Linked DNA regions of Homo sapiens: all the other regions are linked to region 3. The links are contacts of gene promoters, found by promoter capture Hi-C in blood cells and fetal thymus (Javierre and others, 2016). All regions are on one chromosome and are shown on one strand. The core of a region is centred on a gene start or on the middle of the fragment in contact, and the rest is flanking DNA. Distances in the headings are between cores, read along the strand shown.

What was found. Contacts are between HindIII fragments. The CHiCAGO score rates a contact against its expected background, and 5 or more counts as called.
Region 1: a fragment that was not itself captured here is called in contact with the fragment with the promoter of ZNF180 in region 3 in 2 of 17 cell types (non-activated CD4 T cells and total B cells); the score reaches 5.6 in non-activated CD4 T cells.
Region 2: a contact is called between the fragment with the promoter of ZNF345 here and the fragment with the promoter of ZNF180 in region 3, in 3 of 17 cell types (total CD4 T cells, monocytes and activated CD4 T cells). The highest score is 12.2, in total CD4 T cells.
Region 4: a contact is called between a fragment that was not itself captured here and the fragment with the promoter of ZNF180 in region 3, in 1 of 17 cell types (activated CD4 T cells). The highest score is 7.9, in activated CD4 T cells.
Region 5: a fragment that was not itself captured here is called in contact with the fragment with the promoter of ZNF180 in region 3 in 2 of 17 cell types (non-activated CD4 T cells and activated CD4 T cells); the score reaches 9.9 in non-activated CD4 T cells.
Region 6: a contact is called between a fragment that was not itself captured here and the fragment with the promoter of ZNF180 in region 3, in 3 of 17 cell types (total B cells, total CD4 T cells and non-activated CD4 T cells). The highest score is 8.1, in total B cells.
Region 7: a contact is called between a fragment that was not itself captured here and the fragment with the promoter of ZNF180 in region 3, in 1 of 17 cell types (non-activated CD4 T cells). The highest score is 5.1, in non-activated CD4 T cells.

The regions. Positions count from the first base shown.
Region 1 is chr19:37,475,751-37,478,450 of GRCh38, reverse strand. It overlaps ZNF570 (zinc finger protein 570), which reads right to left. Exons shown (of 5, transcript NM_144694.5): 3 at 2,444-2,570; 4 at 2,017-2,112. Among named protein-coding and RNA genes, the nearest start is that of ZNF570, 7.7 kb to the right of the region's middle. The HindIII fragment of the contact is 1,736 bases long and covers 533-2,268 here.
Region 2 is chr19:36,849,439-36,852,138 of GRCh38, reverse strand. It overlaps ZNF345 (zinc finger protein 345), which reads right to left and starts at 1,263. Exons shown (of 3, transcript NM_001242472.2): 1 at 1,171-1,263; 2 at 235-309. It also overlaps a transcript of ZNF790 not described here. RefSeq lists an enhancer at 1,501-1,740. The HindIII fragment of the contact is 2,588 bases long and covers 1-1,500 here.
Region 3 is chr19:44,499,150-44,501,849 of GRCh38, reverse strand. ZNF180 (zinc finger protein 180) reads left to right here and starts at 1,328. Exons shown (of 5, transcript NM_001278509.3): 1 at 1,328-1,575. RefSeq lists enhancers at 873-922, 1,099-1,393, 1,233-1,442, 1,453-1,512, 1,059-1,559 and 2 more. The HindIII fragment of the contact is 10,008 bases long and covers 1-2,700 here.
Region 4 is chr19:37,598,661-37,601,360 of GRCh38, reverse strand. ZNF540 (zinc finger protein 540) reads right to left here. Exons shown (of 5, transcript NM_001172225.3): 3 at 1,609-1,735; 4 at 256-351. Among named protein-coding and RNA genes, the nearest start is that of ZNF540, 5.1 kb to the right of the region's middle. The HindIII fragment of the contact is 966 bases long and covers 898-1,863 here.
Region 5 is chr19:51,572,390-51,575,089 of GRCh38, reverse strand. ZNF175 (zinc finger protein 175) reads right to left here. Exons shown (of 5, transcript NM_007147.4): 2 at 1,689-1,940. The coding sequence starts at 1,760. Among named protein-coding and RNA genes, the nearest start is that of ZNF175, 2.5 kb to the right of the region's middle. The HindIII fragment of the contact is 1,968 bases long and covers 271-2,238 here.
Region 6 is chr19:36,905,014-36,907,713 of GRCh38, reverse strand. The region is part of intron 5 of ZNF829 (zinc finger protein 829); the gene reads left to right. Among named protein-coding and RNA genes, the nearest start is that of ZNF829, 9.9 kb to the left of the region's middle. The HindIII fragment of the contact is 3,429 bases long and covers 1-2,700 here.
Region 7 is chr19:36,216,013-36,218,712 of GRCh38, reverse strand. ZNF146 (zinc finger protein 146) reads right to left here. Exons shown (of 4, transcript NM_007145.3): 2 at 518-591. It also overlaps a transcript of ZNF565 not described here. Among named protein-coding and RNA genes, the nearest start is that of ZNF146, 2.3 kb to the right of the region's middle. The HindIII fragment of the contact is 3,004 bases long and covers 1-2,700 here.

The DNA of each region.
Region 1 (2,700 bases), core at 151-2,650, 7.0 Mb after region 3:
TATTATTAACAGGAGAGATTGGCAAGGTTGCTGGATATAAGGCCAATGCATACGAAGTTAATTTCATTTCTATATATGAGCAACAAACAGAAAATATAGATAACATTTAACACAGCAACAAAACTAATATGTTTAATGTTTACAATTTAATCTAACAGAAGATGTGCAAAGCCTTTTTTGGAGAAAATTATAAAACACTGAAAAAAGTGAAAAAACCTAAATAAATGGAGAGCTATACCATGTTAATGAATTTTTAAAATTTCCAGAATTGATTACAGAATAAATAAAATTTGAATCAAAAGTTAAAATTTGAATCAAAAGTTAACAGCATTTTGTTGTTTTCTGATAGAAATTTACAAGTTGACCCTAAACTTTATATTGATGTCCAAAGGGCAAACAAGAAATTCTAAAGAATTTAAACAAGCTGTAGAGATTTTCCCTAGCAGATAATTATCCTTCTAATAAACTATTTTTATTAAGACAGTGTGGTACTGGTATAAGGAAACAGAGATCAATGAAACTGAATAAAGCTTAAAGTCAAACCCATATATAGACTAAAACCTGGTATATTAAGAGGTAACATTCAGAAAAACAGGCAGAGGGAACACTTATTCAAAAAATATCTGGGACCTTTGGTTTTCCATAAGATACAGAAATTAAATTCTTATTTAAAATAATCCTCAAAAATAAGTTCCAATTGGATTATGGACCTACATATAAAAGGACAATCTTTAAAAGACTATTTTCAGATATCTATATGAACTCAGAACATAGAAAGGTTTCTTAAAGTATCAAAAACATAAGCTACAGGCTGGGTGCAGTGGCTCACGTCTGTAATCCCAGCACTTTGGAAGGCTGAGGCTGGCGGATCACCTGAGATCAGGAGTTGGAGACCAGCGTGGCCAACATGGTGAAACCTCGTCTCTACTAAAAATACAAAAAAATTAGCCAGGCGTGGTGGTGGGTGCCTGTAGTTCCAGTTACTGGGGAGGCTGAGGCAGGAGAATCACTTGAACCCAGGAGGCAGAGGTTGCAGTGAGCCGAGATCATGCCACTGTACTCCAGCCTGGGCAACAGAGCGAGACTCTGTCTCAAAAAAAAAAAAAAAAGTTACAAATACACACACACACACACACACACACACACACACACACACACACACGACAACCTCCCCCACAATGAGCACCTTAGGAAAAATCACACATGCAACCTGTTTTTCCTTTTCTCTCGCACCACAACAATAAACACAGAAGGCTTCTGTGACTGAATGTGGGGGTTTCTCTCCACCAACAAGCAAGCAATGAATTCTGCAGTGGGTGTCCTCTACCTCAGCTCTATTTTGATACTGTCTACCTGGAGATAGCATCAGATCCCTCAGGTTGAGGACTCAGTCCCCAAGGCTGCCTACACTTCTGATGCTCTGTAGAGCTCAAAAATTTATAAGAGGCCAGGCACAGTGGTTCATGCCTGTAATGCCAGCACTTTGGAAGGCTGAGGCAGGCAGATCACGTGAGGTCAGGAGTTTGAGACCAGCCTAACATGGAGAAACCCTGTCTCTACTAAAAATACAAAAATTAGCTGGGCGTGGTGGCATGTGCCTGTAATTCCAGCTCCTGGGAAGGCTGAATCAGGAGAATTGCTTGAACCCGGGAGGCGGAGCTTGCAGTGAGCCGAGACTGCACCACTGCACTCCAGCCTGGGTGACAGAGCGAGACTCTGTCACAAAAAAAAAAAAAAAAAAAAAAGTTTATAAGACTACTACAAGATTTTTTAAAGACTGAGAGGCTTATGAAACTGAGAGGGGATGGGACTTGTTAGAAAGGAGATAGGAAAGTAAGAGAAGGGAAATAATTAAAAATAACAAATGTGGGAGAACATCCTAAATGGCCCCAAATTTTTATGAAAACCTAGAACATTTGAGAAGAATTTGGAAGCCTGAAGAGTGAAGAGGTGATACCTTTGAGTCAAGCTGAGCTGTCACGTGCAAAGATTTTTGCCAATTTCCTCTTCACTAACCTGAGCACAAGCCTTTTGTCAGCTCTCTCTTCACCATCCAGGGTGCTTTTCCTTGTTCCAACAATAATATCACACTTGGTTTGGAAAAGCAAAGTCCTGCAAATACGAAAAAAAAAAGTAGAGTTTTGTCATGCTGTGGATATTCCAGAACTCACATTCAATCCTTAGCTCATCAGGGAAAAGGGAGTTTACAGTAAGCAAAAAGAGAAATGTGTAAAGGACATGTATTAGAAGGATAAGGAAGATGAAGCTTCAGGCACAGGCCAAGAATATGTTCACTGCCAAATCCACAAACACTAAGCCATTTGTTTGGCATAGGCAGCAGACATTCAGCCAAATTTTGCAGATATTATCCAAAAATTCACAATAGTGGTAGCAAAGAGCCCCTTTTGAGCAGAAGCTCAGTTTTGCAAGAAGATATCCTTACCCAGTGATACCAAGATCCTGTAGTTCTCTAGCATCACATTACTGTACAGATGTCTTTGAGAAGAATCCAGACAATCCCATTCCTCTTGGGAGAAGTCTACAGCCACATCTCTGAAGGTCACCAACTCCTGAAATGAAATAAATGGAAGAACCTTATCTCTTACCATATTCACCTCATTTCCTCTGCCCTAGGCACACTGGGCTCTCTCTGATATTACATCCTCAAATATGTAACCATGTTATCATATTTGTACTCAG
Region 2 (2,700 bases), core at 14-2,513, 7.6 Mb after region 3:
AAAAAAAAAAGAAAGAAAGAAAAAAAAAAGAAAAAGAAAAATTAAAACCATCTGACAAATCAGTAAGGGAAAATCAGGTGTGGGAGGTGGGGTTTGAAGACACCACATTTTCTCAAAATGGAAACTCCAGGGATCAGGTCATCTCATAGGCAAGAATTTTCAAGAGAAGGAAAGCAACTATGTCCTGACAAAGAAAAAGGGATTTTTCTTAAACAAGAGGACAGGACAAGCTACCTTGCAGGTGCCTTGTGGATGTTCAACAGCCATTCTTTACTCCTGTTCGGAGGCCTCTATCCAAGCAGGGCAGGGCTGAGGAAGGAGAAAGCAGTCAGGAAACATCAGGTTCTTCTGAGAGGGAGTTGGTTTGACTATGTCAGAAGTTATCTTTGCTCAGCCCCTACTGCCCATCACCTACAGAGGAAGGTCAGAGAAGTCTAGGGCATCCTGCTTAATCCGGGCATCACAGACAACGGTAGGGTCAATGCCGTTCTGGGCAGAACCTGTCCCTGAGCTCACAGGGGTCTCCAATGGCTGAAGTCACAAAGACAAAGACTCCCCATACCTACATTGGCTATACGGACACATAGTCACACAAACTCACTCACACCGCAGGGACATAAACGTCACAGGCACCCCAAACCTAAACACAACACACAATCACACACTCATACACACCACGGGGGTAGACACGGACACAACCACAGAGTCCGTGGGCATCTCTCAAATTCCCAGTGACATACACCTTGGGGTCACAATGACAACAAATTCACACGCACCCTCCATCAACAATATCACCAACGCGCGCGCACACACACACACGGAAGCAGCCACAAACCTCAAAATTAAGGCATACTACACACAGTTCGGCAAATGGTAGTAAACACACACACACACACCCCAAGGGGACATACAGTCACAACCGCGGTCCAGGAACCTCACACTCGCAAACACAGTGCCCAACCCGGTCACAATTAAACTCTACTCACACCCGCACAAACATAAACAAAAAGTCCTCCTCCCCGCCCTCACAGTTCCATACACGGTCGCACAGACACACGCCCCCAGTCACAACCGTACACACTCCTCACAATCGCTCCTTAGCCTGTTCCCCACGCAGCCCACACAGGTCGGGAGTTCCTGTCGCGCCAGGCTCCGAGCCGCCTCACTTACGCCTGTTCGGATAGGGTCAGCTCCGTTCTACTAGAATCCACACAAGTCGACCCTAGCTATCTCACAAAGCCCCAAGGCCGCTTGCCCAAATCCGCGGGAAGATCCCGCCCACTCCTCAAGAGACAATCTAGTTATCGCGGGAGAGTGCCCTGGGCCTAGAGGCTTCTGGGAAGTGTAGTCCAGAAAGCGACAGGTTGCCGAAAGCTACAGCCCAGCCATCCCGATTCCCCTGGCGCGGACTCTGGCACCAACAAAACTATCTCTTTGAGGTGAGCTGCCCATCGGAGCCTTCCGGGAGTCTCACCTGACAAGGAGTCCCTAGACCAAGCTTTAGTCAGGCTCCTCTGAGCCCTTTTTGCTTGGCCAGGCCTCCTCCATAGCCTGCGAACAGCACTTCAGCAAGAATCCAGCTAAGCCAGTTTAGTAACAATCCCCCCACTCTTGATACTTAACTTCCTCTTAGTAATTTAGCATCCTTTAACTCCTTCACCCAGCCCGTTAGCTATAAATCTCCAGCTGCTGTTGTATTGGAAGTTGACTATTGCAATAGTCTTTAACCAAGTCCTTCTTGCCTGTTTAAGTCCTCTGGGGCAAGCTTTCTTTCACCCCGCCCAGCCTCAGAGGGCGGCTCCCGGGCTTCCGCCCCTCCTCGGGAGACATACTGGACCGCAGGGTCTCCTGGGAAACGTAGTCCAAGCCTCGCCGGGGATAGATGGGCCCAACTAAAGTGTGCTGCGTTCTCTGGGTCCTGAGGCGGCAGTCTGGCCGCAGTGACCAGACTAACTGTGCCCCGGAGGCTGCTTGGAATTCCACTTAACGCTGGAAGCACGCAGACGCTCTTGAGGCGGGCAGCTGCGTAGCGTGTGGAGGAGCCGGGAGAGCGCACCCCAATGTGGCACCTGAGCGTCTGGGACCGAACCAGCATGGGGAGTCGGAAGGGGACAAATCCGCGATCCCAGTCATGCATGTGAGACTGGGCAAAGGAAGGCTCGAGTGTGTGTGAGACCGCGGTGGGCCTGCTTGTGCTGGTGGGATGAGGGGTGTCTGGGTAGTTGAGTGAAAGAAACCGCGTGCGGGTCAGATTGGTGTGTGTGTGAGAGAAGTGAGGTCAAGATGTGTGCAGCTTTGGGCGTGGGGAGGTCATATTGAGTGTGTGGAGGTGGGGGGGGCAAGATCGTGTATGGATCTGTGTATGAGTGTGTGTAATCACCTGAATGTGGGTCACTGCGTGGGTAGCTGATACTATGACTGTGGAGGAATCTGAACCTCCAAGTCTCATTTTCTCTTTAAATTGTGATAACAAGGTTGTATCTTCCTGGTGCAGCAGTTTTAAAGGGGGGAAGCTCCATTACTGATATAATAAAATAGCATTTTTTATGTAAACATTTAACATTCAGACATTTCTTCTGAACTAGAGTACAAAATCAGTTATGAGTACTCCAAGTAGTTTAAAAAAGAAACCCGTCATAATAGATGCATATGGGGAAGATAAATAGTGAAAGGGGAACTTCCTTTTCACTATACTCTTGT
Region 3 (2,700 bases), core at 79-2,578:
TTTATTTAGCCAACGAATATTTATTGAGCATCTATTATGTGCCAGGTCTCTCTCTTTTTTTTTTTTTTAGGTGTTGGGGATGCAGCAGTGATCAACATCGATAAAATGCTTTTCCTTATGGAATTGACATCGTAGTGGTAGGTCGGACAGTAGACCAAATAAATAATTAAAATATATAGTGTGCTAGATAGTGAAAAGTTCTTTAGAGAAAAAAATAAAAGATGAAGGGGGAGGCACAGAGCATGTGGGGAGGGAAGCGTTTGCTTGCAAGTTCACAACGGGTGGTGGGGCAATGCCTCATGAGAAGATGATATTCCCCTAATTACCAGACGGTGAGAGCCAAATGAATCCCTCAGGAGAGGCTGCTAGGGAGTGCAAAGAGCACCTGCAAACGACCAGGGGCTGGAGTCTGCTGGATCTGTTGGAGAATGGGGAAAATGTGCCAAGCAAATGGGCAAGAAATGAGGGCAAAGAGAAAAGGGGACTACGCCTGTAATCCCAGCACTTTGGGAGGCCGAGGGCGGATCACCTGAGGTCAGGAGTTGGAGACTAACCTGGCCAACGTGGTGAAACCCCGTCTCTACTAAAAATACAAAAATTAGCCGGGCGTGGTGGCTGGCGCCTGTAATCCCAGCTATTCAGGAGGCTGAGGCAGGAGAATCGCTTGAATCCGGGAGGTGGAGGTTGCAGTGAGCCGAGATCGCGCTATTGCCCTCCAGCCTGGGCGACAAGAGCGAAATTCCGTCTCAAAACAACAAAACAAAACAAAACAAAAACAGAGAAAAGGGGAGAGGTGGGGGGAACAGATCCTTCAGGCCTTATAGGCAGAGAAAGAACTCAAAATTTAAAAATAAAATGATTATATTTTAGTATTATTAAATGTAAAAACATAGATTCCTGAAGGGTTCGGTAGACGCTCCCTCCACTGTAAAATGGGGATGTCGCAACTGTCTCACAGGTTTCCCCTAGGACTAGAGGAGACAAGGGGTCGCGCGCAGCGTCTGACAGGCAGGGGGCACCCAGAAAGGGTCCCCGCCATTTCTATTGGATTCTGACGTCACGCCAGAGCGACTCCCCATGCGTCGCTGCACTGGCCTCGGCCTCCCGGCGCCGCGGCTGGTCTTAGTGCTCCCCCTAGACCTGCACATGCACAGGTGTGGCGCCCCCCCGGGCCCCGGACGAGGACGCCCTCTTAGCTTCTGGCCCGGTCCCCCGCCCCACTTCCTTGGAGAAGCCGGAACCCCGCCTACTGACCGTCCGCGCCGCGGAGGCTTCTGGGAATTGTAGTTCTGGCTCTCCGAGCCCAAGTGCACTTCCGGGTTCGGCCACAAGAGCAGCCATTGTCCCGCGCGCGGACGCTTGCTGTCGCCGAGCAGCTCGGCCCTTCAGACTTAACCCCCAGCGGCCTTGCGGATGCTGACTAGGAGAGGGGACCGAACTAGCTTAACCCGAGTCGGCCGTGTTGCAGAATCGGGGCAGGGGGTTGCCTAACCCGAGTTCGTCCTGCCGCAGAGCCGTGCTAGGCACTGAGGCGGTGACAGGCCCAGCCTGGGCTGCGGGCCAGCGGACGCCCAGGTTGGTAGGGGCGTGGGGCAGCGCTTGGTGTCCGATGCGCGCATGCGCAGGGTCTACGCGGGAAGCTGGAAGCGGTGGTGAGTGTAGCGGGGAGACCTGGTATCTGTGCGGGTGGCGCTTTAGCCTCGGGTCACCGGGGTTGATGGAGTTACTGATACAGCTGTATATTCCGCGACTGTCCTCTGCGTGCATGCGCGGGTGCTTGGTCAGGTGGTGCTCTTGTCTGGGGCCTGAGGATGCCCAGGTTGCTGGAACACAGGGCACATGCATTGATGTAAGGGGACATCTTGAGAACTCCCCTCCTCCAATGCCGGGCTTATTTAGTGGAGGCCTGAGGATGTCCGGGTTGATGGAGTGCTCCATTGCAGATTGTGGTTTCTGGAGAGGAGGGGCTGTGCCACTGTCCCTTTACTCTTGATCAGGTATTTGGGTAGGAAGCAAAAGGTTGTAGGTAAGATTCCGAGCAGGTGGCTCTGGGCCCCTAGAGCAGACAACGCGCTTCTCCAAGGTCTGGGGGCGCTGTGGTTGGTGGAGAGACCAGATTGGAGTTGCAGATTCTTGTGCCAGAAGAGGCAGTGTTGCTAGTGAACCCTTGGTGGGAATTACCCATGGGCAGCAAACTCCCAGGCTGAAGGAGGGTATCAGGGCCTAGAAACAGGTTCTGGGCAGAGGGCCCCCTGCACGTCCTGGGGGTGTCTGAATGGAAAACAGAAACTTGAACTGATAGTAGGGACCTATGTAGGATAGTGCAGAGCTCTAGAGCATTCAAGATGGGCAGAGACTCCGGGTTGGAGATACAGAATTTAAGTCCAGGAAGGACAGAGCTGCAACAGCTGCCATCAAATTGGTAGCTGGGGAGGAAGCAGTATGTTGCCAGCATCGTTATGAAGCAGGTGTTGCTGAGACCTTTACTTGGGTACGCTATTTGCAGGCGTGAGAATGTGCAGGTTAGTAGAGGGACAGAGCCTGTGCTGCAGATTTGGTCCCGGGAAGAGCTGACTGCACAACACCCAGGCCGTCATGATTGGGCAAGAGAAGGACAAAGGGCCCAGTTCCCATTGAGCTGCTGTATCGTAGGCTCGAGAACCCCCACGCTGGCGAGTGCCCAAGTCCTGGGGCTGATTA
Region 4 (2,700 bases), core at 131-2,630, 6.9 Mb after region 3:
CCTTTACTGAAATGGAGAGTAATACGAGGGGAAACAAAAACAAAGACAGGTGGTAAGTAGGAGCCAAGATGAGGTTCTTTTGATAGTTCATGCTCAGATGATCTGTTTTCTTCCCTGTCTTAACCTTTACTCCAAAGGCCTGAGGCCTCTGAGAGTAACTCCCTAAACAGCATGCAAAGCCTGTATATGCTCCCTCACCAGCTGGCCGTGACTGGCAATGAGGGCTTCCATCTGCCTGATGAACTCTCAACTCACCGGGGCACTGTCTTCCTGTCACATCCCTCGCCACCACGCAGGGCTCTTTCCCTTGCTCCAGTAAGGTAATCACATCTGGCTTTGAGCCAGAATATCCTGCTTACAAGAAAGAAATAAAAGAATATATAGAAATAAAACATTGCACATTCAGAAACATTTTGAGACTTGGTTAAATTTATATGGATCAACATGATTTCGATGAAGACTTCGGAAAAAACTGACAGGATTAAAGAATATTCAACTTAGTGTAACCTCAGGATCCCAGAGAATAAAGAAACTTGATGGGCAGGGGAATTAAAATTCATCTAGGAGAATTTTAATTCATTTTGGAATTAAAACTCATACAGACTGGCTCTATTGAGAGGCAGTAGTTATTGAGGGCATAGCCTCTGAAGCCAGACTATGTGGGTCCAAATTCTACTCTACTACCTATTGACTAATGATTGTAAACAAACTGGTTAAATTATTTGGGCCTCAGTTTTTTCATCTGTAAAATGAAAATAAAAGTAGTACCTTTTATTTTCTTTTTTTCTTTTGTATCTTGTAGCTAGTACTTAGAATGATGCCTGGTATATAGTAAGCACTCTATTAGCTATTATTATTTTTGTTGTTGTTAATTTACTTAGAGCAAAACAAGAAGCTTCCTAAAATATTTCTAGGTTCTTGCTAAGATATTCATTTAAAGTTAGATGCTAAGTTAATAAATTTTATTTTACTTTAACTAATTTCAACTTTTATTTTAGATACAGGGCCATACGTGCAGGTTTGTTACCTGGGGATATTGTGTGATGCTGAGGTTTGAGGTACATTTGATCCCACCACCCAGGTACTGAGCATAATGTCCAATAGGTAAAATTTTCAATCACAAATCAGTAAGAGAAAATATTTGTTTTAGGAAGTAGAATGCATTCACTTTAATTTTAAATCAATGTTATTGGTCTGAACCATGACATGTAAATTGTAGACCCTGGGTAGGGCTGTTATCCTTATAGGCATGTTACCAAATAACAGAGCATCCATAGCAATTCTGAGCTCAAATGCAATGTGAAACCTGATTTCATTGACATTGGCTTTGGAGTAAATGCCCCAAAATTCAAATCCAGTCTCTTAACTATTAAGGAAGAAGTAACTACAGTAATGGATTAAGGAACATTTCATGAGGCTCAGTGAGGTATGGTGAAAATGAAAGCATTTAGTGGAAGTGCCATTCACAAACCATCAAAGTTCAGTCCATTCCTTGAGGAAGAGAGAAGAAATTCAGCTAGTTTCTTAATAATTAGTCCTAAATTTGTGGAAGAGAAAGCTACTATTTCAGATAACAGAGTCTACATTATTTGACATAGGTGACCTTACCCAGTGAGACCAAGTTATTATAATTCTCCAACATCACATCTCTGTACAATTTCCTCTGGGTAGTGTCCAGGCACTCCCATTCCTTCTGAGAGAAGTCTATAGCCACATCCCTGAACGTCACCAATGCCTGAAACCATAAACCAACATATTACTGGTGAAATTACAGAACAAGTATTTTAAAAAGAAGAAAAGGAGATAAAAGGTTTCATTGCAGCAAGGGGTACTATACTAAACTCTAGGCTGGGGCTGAAAGCTTATGATAAAGATAGAAGAAAGGAACCAGGTGTTCTAAAGCAGAGTCACCTCATTTTCTTGAAGAATCCAGCCACTATATGCAAAATTTCCTGTATATTATGGGGTTCTTTAACTACTCAAAACATTTCTGGGAACAAATAAATGTTTCCCAATTCAATTAAACAGTGGATACAAGCAAATAAACTATATTTCTACCTCAAAAATTCTCAATAAATTATTACTTAATAATAAATACTTTAAGAAAAACCACTTAATACATAAAAAAGAATCCTATATCCTCTTTTTCCTTTAAGTTTATCTATCTATCTATCTATCTATCGATCAATCGATTGATCAATCGAGACGGAGATCTCACTCTGTTGCCCACGCTGGAGTACAGTGGTGAACTCAGAAGTTCGAGGCCATAGTACCTCACTGCAAATCTGGGAGAATACAATTAACTAATATTTATGTATCTGGATGATTTTCTTATAAGTACTACACACCTTCTTTTTTCTTGAGATTAAGAATATTGATGTAATGAACCAGAATCATACTGATGTCAAGACTAGCACATTCCGTTTAACCACAAAATGCGTCTTACTATGGGTTTTCACCTCAGAGATTCTCAGGAAAGATCCCCTGGCCTCTCTATAAGCAGGCCCCAACCACATACTGAAACTGAGGCCAATCAATATTAAACTGCATTTATCTACAGACACAGGATCTGTGGAAAACTGCAGTGCTTTCCTACGTGTAGTCAAATGATTCCATTCTTGGTTTCATTACACCTCAGATCTGACAAAGGATGGTAAAGTACCTCCCCCTCTAGGAACTTCATGTCTGTTCCATCTCTGC
Region 5 (2,700 bases), core at 5-2,504, 7.1 Mb before region 3:
CAAAGTAATGCAAATTAAAACACTATACTATCTTTATTTCCATCACATTAGAAAAGATAAAAATAACAAAATAAAAATAGTACTGTCCAGAGCAGAGGGAAATACACACCACAAAGAGAAGATAATGTGCATGGTACTGGGATATACTCTGACATGAATTCAGACACTGATGGAAAATCTGAATTAGCGACAGCAGTATTGATTCAAATGATAAACTGGAAATCAGGTCAAGCAGAAAAAAAATTTCATTGTTAAAAAAGGAAAAAAGCTTATATTGAACATGTGTCCTAAAACGCTAAACTTGAAGATGTTCTGAACACGCAAGTTGACCAACATCAATGCAAATGAGAGAAACGTTTGTGCATCTGCACTGCTGTCACAAAGACTTAGACAATTTCATGTTTTAAACTTGTTTTGTTTTGAGACAGGGTCTCACTCTATTGCCCAGGCTGGAGTGTAGTGTCATGATTGCAGCTCACTGCAACCTTGACCGCCTCAAGCTCAGGTGATCCTCCCACGTCAACGTACTCAGTAGCTGGGACTACAGGTGCATGCCACCACACCTGGCTAATTTTTGTATTTTTGTAGAGTCTCGCCATGTTGCCCAGGCTGGTCTCCAACTCCTGGGCTCAAGTGATCCGCCCGCCTCGGCCTCCCAAAGTGCATGAGCCACTGTGCCCCACCTAAACTTGTATGTTTCAATTTTTCTTTTAAGAACGACTTTTAAATATTTGGGGTATTTACAATTTTGAAAATGATTTATATGTGCAATTTATTTTGTGTTAATGTTCCCTTCTTTTAATACTTTCTATTATCAAATGTTTCTAGCAGGTTGAGATGATTTTAACAGGTTACTGAAATATATAATCTCACAATATATTGGTTCAGGATAATAACACACATATTTATTATACTTTTTTTAAAAAACAGAACATCTCTGTAAATTTGGTTATAAACCCATCACAGAACAATGGTACACTGTTTACTATTATAGTCACATACTATTTAAAGACTTGTAAATAAAGCATCAAGAGATACACAGAATAATTTAGGATTTCAGGAAATCTTGACTATACCAAGAATTCTGATTTCTTGTTACCAAATCCTGACTATTTCTATCTGTGGGCAATCTGGAAACACTGTTTTCCAGCATTTTTTGTTCACCTTTTTAAACAGGAAAAAGTGTTTAAAAGCCTCTTCACATGGTCCTTAAAAGCCTCTTCTCACTCTACCTCCCTGTGACTATTTAAATTACAAAGGAAGGAGATTTTGCCGCACCTTATGAGAACAGAGGAAAAACGGGCCAAACCCCATGGACCAAGCAAGGAATTTGGTGGGGGGGACCACTTGAAATTTTTCAAAGACCCAGTGGTGGATGAAGGAGCAGAACCAGTGCTTAGCAGGAAAGAGTCAGCTTTTCCATCCTATGACTGGGGCTTCTGATCAGACCAGGGACTACAGTTTCTTCTTTCTTGACCCAAGGCCAACCCTCTACTATCCTCTTTTATCAGCCAGTTCATGGTTTCCTCTAGAACACAGATAGCCTATGAATGTGGAAACATCAGCCTCTGTGGTCCTCGCTTGACAGGAGGCTCAAGACTGACTCAGGAGCAGGGAGCCCAGACCTGCTGCATCCTGTGTCTGCCCTCACGTTCTGGAGAACTATCCCCAGGGCTGCCCCTGTTTACCTCGCAAGATCCATCCTGCTTCTCTGGACCCAGGACCTGAGGCTTCTGGGATAAATTCACATCAGCAGGCATCTCCACTCTGGGCTTCTACTCTCGGTCTCTCTTGCTGACAACTCCACTTTTCCCAGGAGCCAGAAGCTGGATAGGTGTTTGGATTTTCCAACCAGGGACACGGCGGAGAGTCGTACTGGGCTATGAAGAGAGATCCTGCAGCCTCAATGATGTGGCCTGACCTGGGGGTTCTGCAGAAGCCTTGGAAAAGCAATGAGTACATGGTCACTCATTCAACATTCACTCCACAAATATTTCCTGAGGGCACTGAGGTGAAGTCACTGTGTCAGACATTGGAGTAGACAAAGTTCAGAAAGCCCAACTCTAGTTATTAGTCAGGGTTAAAAATAAAGACTGAGTCTGGACTAAATGGTGAATTCATTGCAGCTTTGCCACATTTTCACTGTGAGAATATGAAAATATTACTTTAGTTGTAGTTTCCAAAATGAAAATGCAGGTATTTATCACAGATGTTGGGAAACTTAACCAAGATGAAGCTTGTCAAGTCCTCAGTGCCTGCCTGGCACGTGATAAATATGAATTAAAAAAAGAAAGTTGTCAATTTAATTGTCAGCTAAATATCATGGGCATTATCATACCCATTTTGAGGATGAGGATAATGAGGCTGTGTGCTGTTACATAATTTGCCTGAAGGTTACTCAGTCTGTAAATGGAAAAACAGGGAATCAGCCCCACATCTGCCTTGTTCTAAACTGTACACTGTCTCCACTATCTCATGTACCCATACGTGGCCAGCTTCCAGAAACACCATTTCCTCTTTCTGTTGCCTTCATAGAACTCAGGCCGGGAGGTGGCTCTGTCTGGTGTACCTATTCTGAGCTTCTGGACTTTTCAGTCCCCGTCCATAATACACCACACACAGACCAGCCTCTTCTGACTAGAGCTAAAACTTAAAATCACTGTCCCAATCCCCATCTTGACACAGAAAATTTGCAGACAT
Region 6 (2,700 bases), core at 30-2,529, 7.6 Mb after region 3:
TCCTATGATACGCTACGTTTAGATTTGTATAACAGTAGACATTCCCACCCTGAGAAATAGATGTAAGTGCATGTGTGTCTTTTTCTTTCCCTGTGCTTGTTTTCATTTTATCTACTTTCAGCTATTTAACATCTTTGACCAGTTTGTTCTGGATTTAAAAGCTCATTCTTTCATTTATCAAACATTTGATTATTTCTTACTTGAAAACAAAATTGAAGTATAACATACACACATAAAACTGCATGACTATGATTGCATAGTATGGTGAAATTGAGAATGGTGAAACCACTACTAGGACGATAAATAGAACATTACTAGCACCTCAGAACCCCTTCTCTGCCCCTTCCCAATCACCAGCCTCTTTTTCCTCTCTCAAAATAAATACCATCCTGACATTTGGCACCATGGATTCGTTTTGCCTATTTTTGAACTTTGTATAGACGCAATCACACAGTATTTAGTCTTTTGCCTTTGGCTTTTTTTGCTCAACATTATGTTTATGTGACATATCTATGGTGCTGCATATATCTGGTGTTAGTTCATTCTTATTGGCTATGTTATATTTCATTCTATGAATATATACATATATATATATATATACATTTTTTTTTTTTTTTTTTTTTTTTGAGATGGAGTCTTGCTCTGTTGCCCAGGCTGGAGTGCAGTGGTGTGATCTCAGCTCACTGCAACCTCTGCCTCCTGGGTTCAAGCGATTCTCCTGTCTCAGCCTCCCGAGTAGCTGGAACTACAGGCCTGCGCCACCACGCCCAGCTAATTTTTTGTATTTTTAGTAGAGACAGGGTTTCAACATGTTGGCCAGGCTGGTTTCAAACTGCTGACTTCAGGTGATCCACCCGCCTCAGCCTCCCAAAGTGCTGGGATTACAGGCGTAACCCACTGTGTCCTGCTTCATTCTATGAATATTTTTTAAATTATGCTTTATATATTATTAATTACTATAAGTGTCCTTCTGTTGACAGTTGGTTTGTTTGCAGTTTTTAGCTATTAAACATAATGCTGCTGTGAACGTTCCTGTGTATAACTTTTGGTAAATGTATGTACACATTTCTTTTAGGTATATACATAGGAGTGGAATTACTGAGCAATAGGATATGTGTGTGTTCAACTTTAGTAAATATACCAATTTTCCAAAGTAGTTATACCAATTTGCAGTTCTACTAGCAGTATGAAGGTTACTATTGCTCTGCATTCTTACATTCTTACCAGTTATTATTGCCAGGCCCTTTAATTTTAGTTATTCTGATGTGTGTGTTCTGTGACATGCCTGTTTAAGTTTCTTGGCTAAACTTAGTCGGTTGTCTATCTTTTTCCTGTTGGTTTCAAAGAATTCTTATTATATTCTATGTATCAGCCCTGTGTTTGGTTATACATGATGTAAATATCTCCCACCACTTTATACCTTGCCCTTTACTCTTTTAATAGTACCTTTTGATGAACAGAAGTTATTAATTTTAATGTGGTCACAGTTATCTTTTTCTTTATAGTGTTGCTTTTTTGTGTCCTGGATAGGAATCATTGCCTACCCCAAGGTCTTGAAGATATTTCCTATGTTATATTCTAGTAGCTTTATTGTTTTACTTTTTCCATTTAGATCTACTTTCCTGAAGTTGGTATTTGTATGTGTTGTGAGGTAGGGGTCAAATTTCATTTTTTTTCCATGTGAATATCCAGTTGACTTCTTAGTGTTTATTGAGATGACTGTCCTTTTCCCATTCTATAGAGATAGGACTATATCTATCTTTTCCCCAATAGAAATAGGACTACCTTTGTCATAAATCAGGTATTCCTATTTCTGTGAGTCTATCTCTGAATTCTGTTCCTTTGGCTTATTTGTCTATCCTTGTGCCAATACCACACTATATTAATACTGTAGCATGTAATAAATCTTATCTAGTAGAGCAAGTTCTCCTGCTGCTGCTTAGTCCTTTGCATTTTCATTGTAAATTTTAGTATTAGGCCGGGCGCAGTGGCTCACGCCTGTAATCCCAGCACTTTGGGAGGCCGAGGTGGGTGGATCACCTGGGGTCAGGAGTTCAAGACCAGCCTGGGCAACATGGTGAAACCCCATCTTTACTAAAAATACAAAAATTAGCCAGGTGTGGTGGCGGGCACCTGTAATCCCAGCTACTCAGGAGGCTGAGGCAGGAGAATCGCTTGAACCAGGGAGGCGGAGGTTGCAGTGAGCCGAGATCACACCATTGCACTCCAGCCTGGGGGACAAGAGCAAAACTTGGTCTCACAAAAGAAAAAAAAAAAAAATTTAGAATTAGCTTATATAGTCATTTGAAACTTAATCAAAATGCCAAGTTATTTTTTCATGAGAATATTAATATCAGTTTGTGGAGAATTAAGATTTTTAAATAGCAAGTCTTATAAAAATGTTTGACTTTTTAATTTTATACACTAGTCTGCTAGGTGCTGTACAGTTTAGAAAATGTGTAGGCTTATTAAGAAACTTGTTATCTAATGTAGGAGCTAGAACATTGCTGTAAATAATTTCTACAGGATAAGATTCATCAATGAGAAGATCAAATAGGACGCTCAGAAGAAAGTTGTAAAACAGTCAAAAAATATGGAAGTGGAAATTGATCCAAGTAGAAGTTAATGGTTGGAGCCCTAGAAGTAGATGTTGTTACCTATGGAGTTAGCGTTGGAAATAGAAGATCCATGTGTCCCTTG
Region 7 (2,700 bases), core at 77-2,576, 8.3 Mb after region 3:
TGGATCACAAGGTCAGGAGATCCAGACCATCCTGGCTAACGCGGTGAAACCCCATCTCTACTAAAAATACAAAAACAAAATTAGCCAGGCGTGGTGGCTGGCACCTGTAGTCCCAGCTACTCAGGAGGCTGAGGCGGGAGAATGGCATGAACCAGGGAGGCAGAGCCTGCAGTGAGCCGAGATCAGGCCACTGCACTGCAGCCTGGGCGACAGTGAGACTCCATCAAAAAAAAAAAAGAAATATTAATAACAAAAGTGCATCTACATATCTTATTCTTTCAGAAATTCCTACCAGACACAGGACTATAATATTTTCTGAGGAAGCATTTTTTTTGCAGCTAGTAATAAAAAGTACTAGTATTTAACATTAATCAAGTACTTACTACACACTGGGGACTATTCTTAGAACTTTACATGTATTAACTTCTGGAGCTACACAACCACCCTTTGAATCAAATATTGCTATTATTTCTATACTATGAAATGAGCAACTGAGGCCCAAGGTTTAAGTACCTACCTGAGGTCCCCAAGGTAAAAAGTGGCAGAGGAAGGAGTTAACACAGGAAGTCTGGCTCCTTGGCCTATGTCTTCCTTTAATTTAAAAAAAAAAAAAAAAAAATTAGCTCATGCCTGTAATCCCAGTACTTTGGGAGGCTGAGGCAGGCAGATCACATGAGGTCAGGAGTTCGAGACCAGCCTGGTCACCATGGTGAAACCCCGTCTCTACTAAAAATACAAAGCCTTTGCCCTGTCTATTCCAGTACCCCCACCCCAACAGCCAGTTTTATTATTTCGTATGTATCTTTTGAATTTTTTTTTTTTTTTTTGAGATGGAGTTTCACTCTCGTTGCCCAGGTTGGAGTGCAATGGCGCAATCTCTGTTCACTGCAACCTCCGCCTCCCGGGTTCAAGCAATTATCTTGCCTCAGCCTCCCAAGTAGCTGGGATTAACAGGCATGTGCCGCCACGCCTGGCTAATTTTGTATTTTTAGTAGAGACGGGGTTTCTCCATGTTGGTCACGCTGGTCTCAAACTCCTGACCTCAGGTGATCCGCCTGCGTTGGCCTCCCAAAGTGCTGGGATTATAAATACATATTCTTATTACCCCTTTTCTTATTCCAAATGCATCGTGTATCATACTCTACATTCTGCACCTTGCTTTCTCTCAGTTAACAATACATTTTGAAGTTATTTCTGTCTCAGTATATAAAGAGCTTCCTCCTCATTCTTTTGTACAGCTATGTATTATTTTGTTGTATCGATGTACACCAATCTCCCACTGATGGGCATGAACTGTTTTTCTTTTCTTTCTTCTCTCTCTCTCCTTTCTTTCTTTCTTAAGACAGGGTCGGCCAGGCACCGTGGTTCATGCCTGTAATCCTAGCACTTTGGGAAGCCGAGGCGGGCCGATCACTTGAGGTCAAGAGTTCAAGACCAGCCTGGCCAACATGGTAAAACCCTGTCTCTACTAAAAATACAAAAAAAGTAGCCGGGTGTGGTGGCAGGCAACTAATCCCAGCTACTCGGGAGGCTGAGCCAAGAGAATCGCTTGAACCTGGGGGGCAGAGGTTGCAGGGAGCAGAGATTGGGCCACTGCACTCTAGACTGGGCAAGAGAGAGAGACTCCATCTCAAAAAAAAAAAAAAAAAAAAAAAAAGACAGGGACTGGCTGTCCACCAAGCTGGAATGCTGTCGCCAGGATCTCTGCTCACTGCAGCCTTGACCTCCTAGGCTCAAGTGATCCTCCCACCTCAGCCTCCCAAGCAGCTAGGACTACGGGAGATCTCACTATGTCGCCCAAGCTGGTCTCTAACTCCTGGACTCTAGCCATCCTCCTGCCTTGGCTCACAGGTGTGAGCCACCAAGCCCGGCCTGAGGCTTTATATTTAAAATGTGTTGGGTCCCCATCTCCCCACACCTCAACGCCTTTTCTTTCTCAGTCTGTACTGGCTCTTGCAGCTTGTCTCTTTCCATAGTAAGTCTAGGATCAGTTCCCCTAGTTCCAAAAGAGAAAAGCCTGTCCATACTTTTATTAGGATCACATTATTACTATTATTGAGACGGAATCTCGCTCTTGTCCAGGCTGGAGTGCAGTGGCGAGATCTGGGCTCACTGCAACCTCCGCCTCCCAGGTTCAAGCGATTTTCCTGCCTCAGCCTCCGCGGTAGCTCAGATTACAGGCGCCCGCCACCACGCCCGGCTAATTTTTGTATTTTTTTATTTTATTTTTTTTTAGTAGAGACAGGGTTTCACCATGTTGGCCAGGCTCCTCTCGAACTCCTGATCTCAGGTAATCCACCCATCTCGGCCTCCCAAAGTGCTAGGATTACAGGCATGAGCCACCGCACCCGACCAAGATCACAGTAAATTAATACATTCACTTAAGTTTGCGCACACTTCTTAATGTCACATGGTATATTTATTTGTTCACATTTGTTATGCCCCTTAGTAGTATTTTAAAGTTCTTTCCTAATAGTTCTGAACCTTTAAGTTTCTTCCACAATACTTTATCTTTTTACTGCTATTGTAAATATTAGTTTTCTTCAACTATGTATTCTAACTGATATTTGTAAATTAGAAGGCTATTTATTTATAGATATTAACTTGGTACCCAATTACTTTATTTAACTTTTTGTAATTTAAAACTATGTCAATGACGACAGCGGGGGCGGGGTGATTTCCTTAGAAAACGCATCTTTG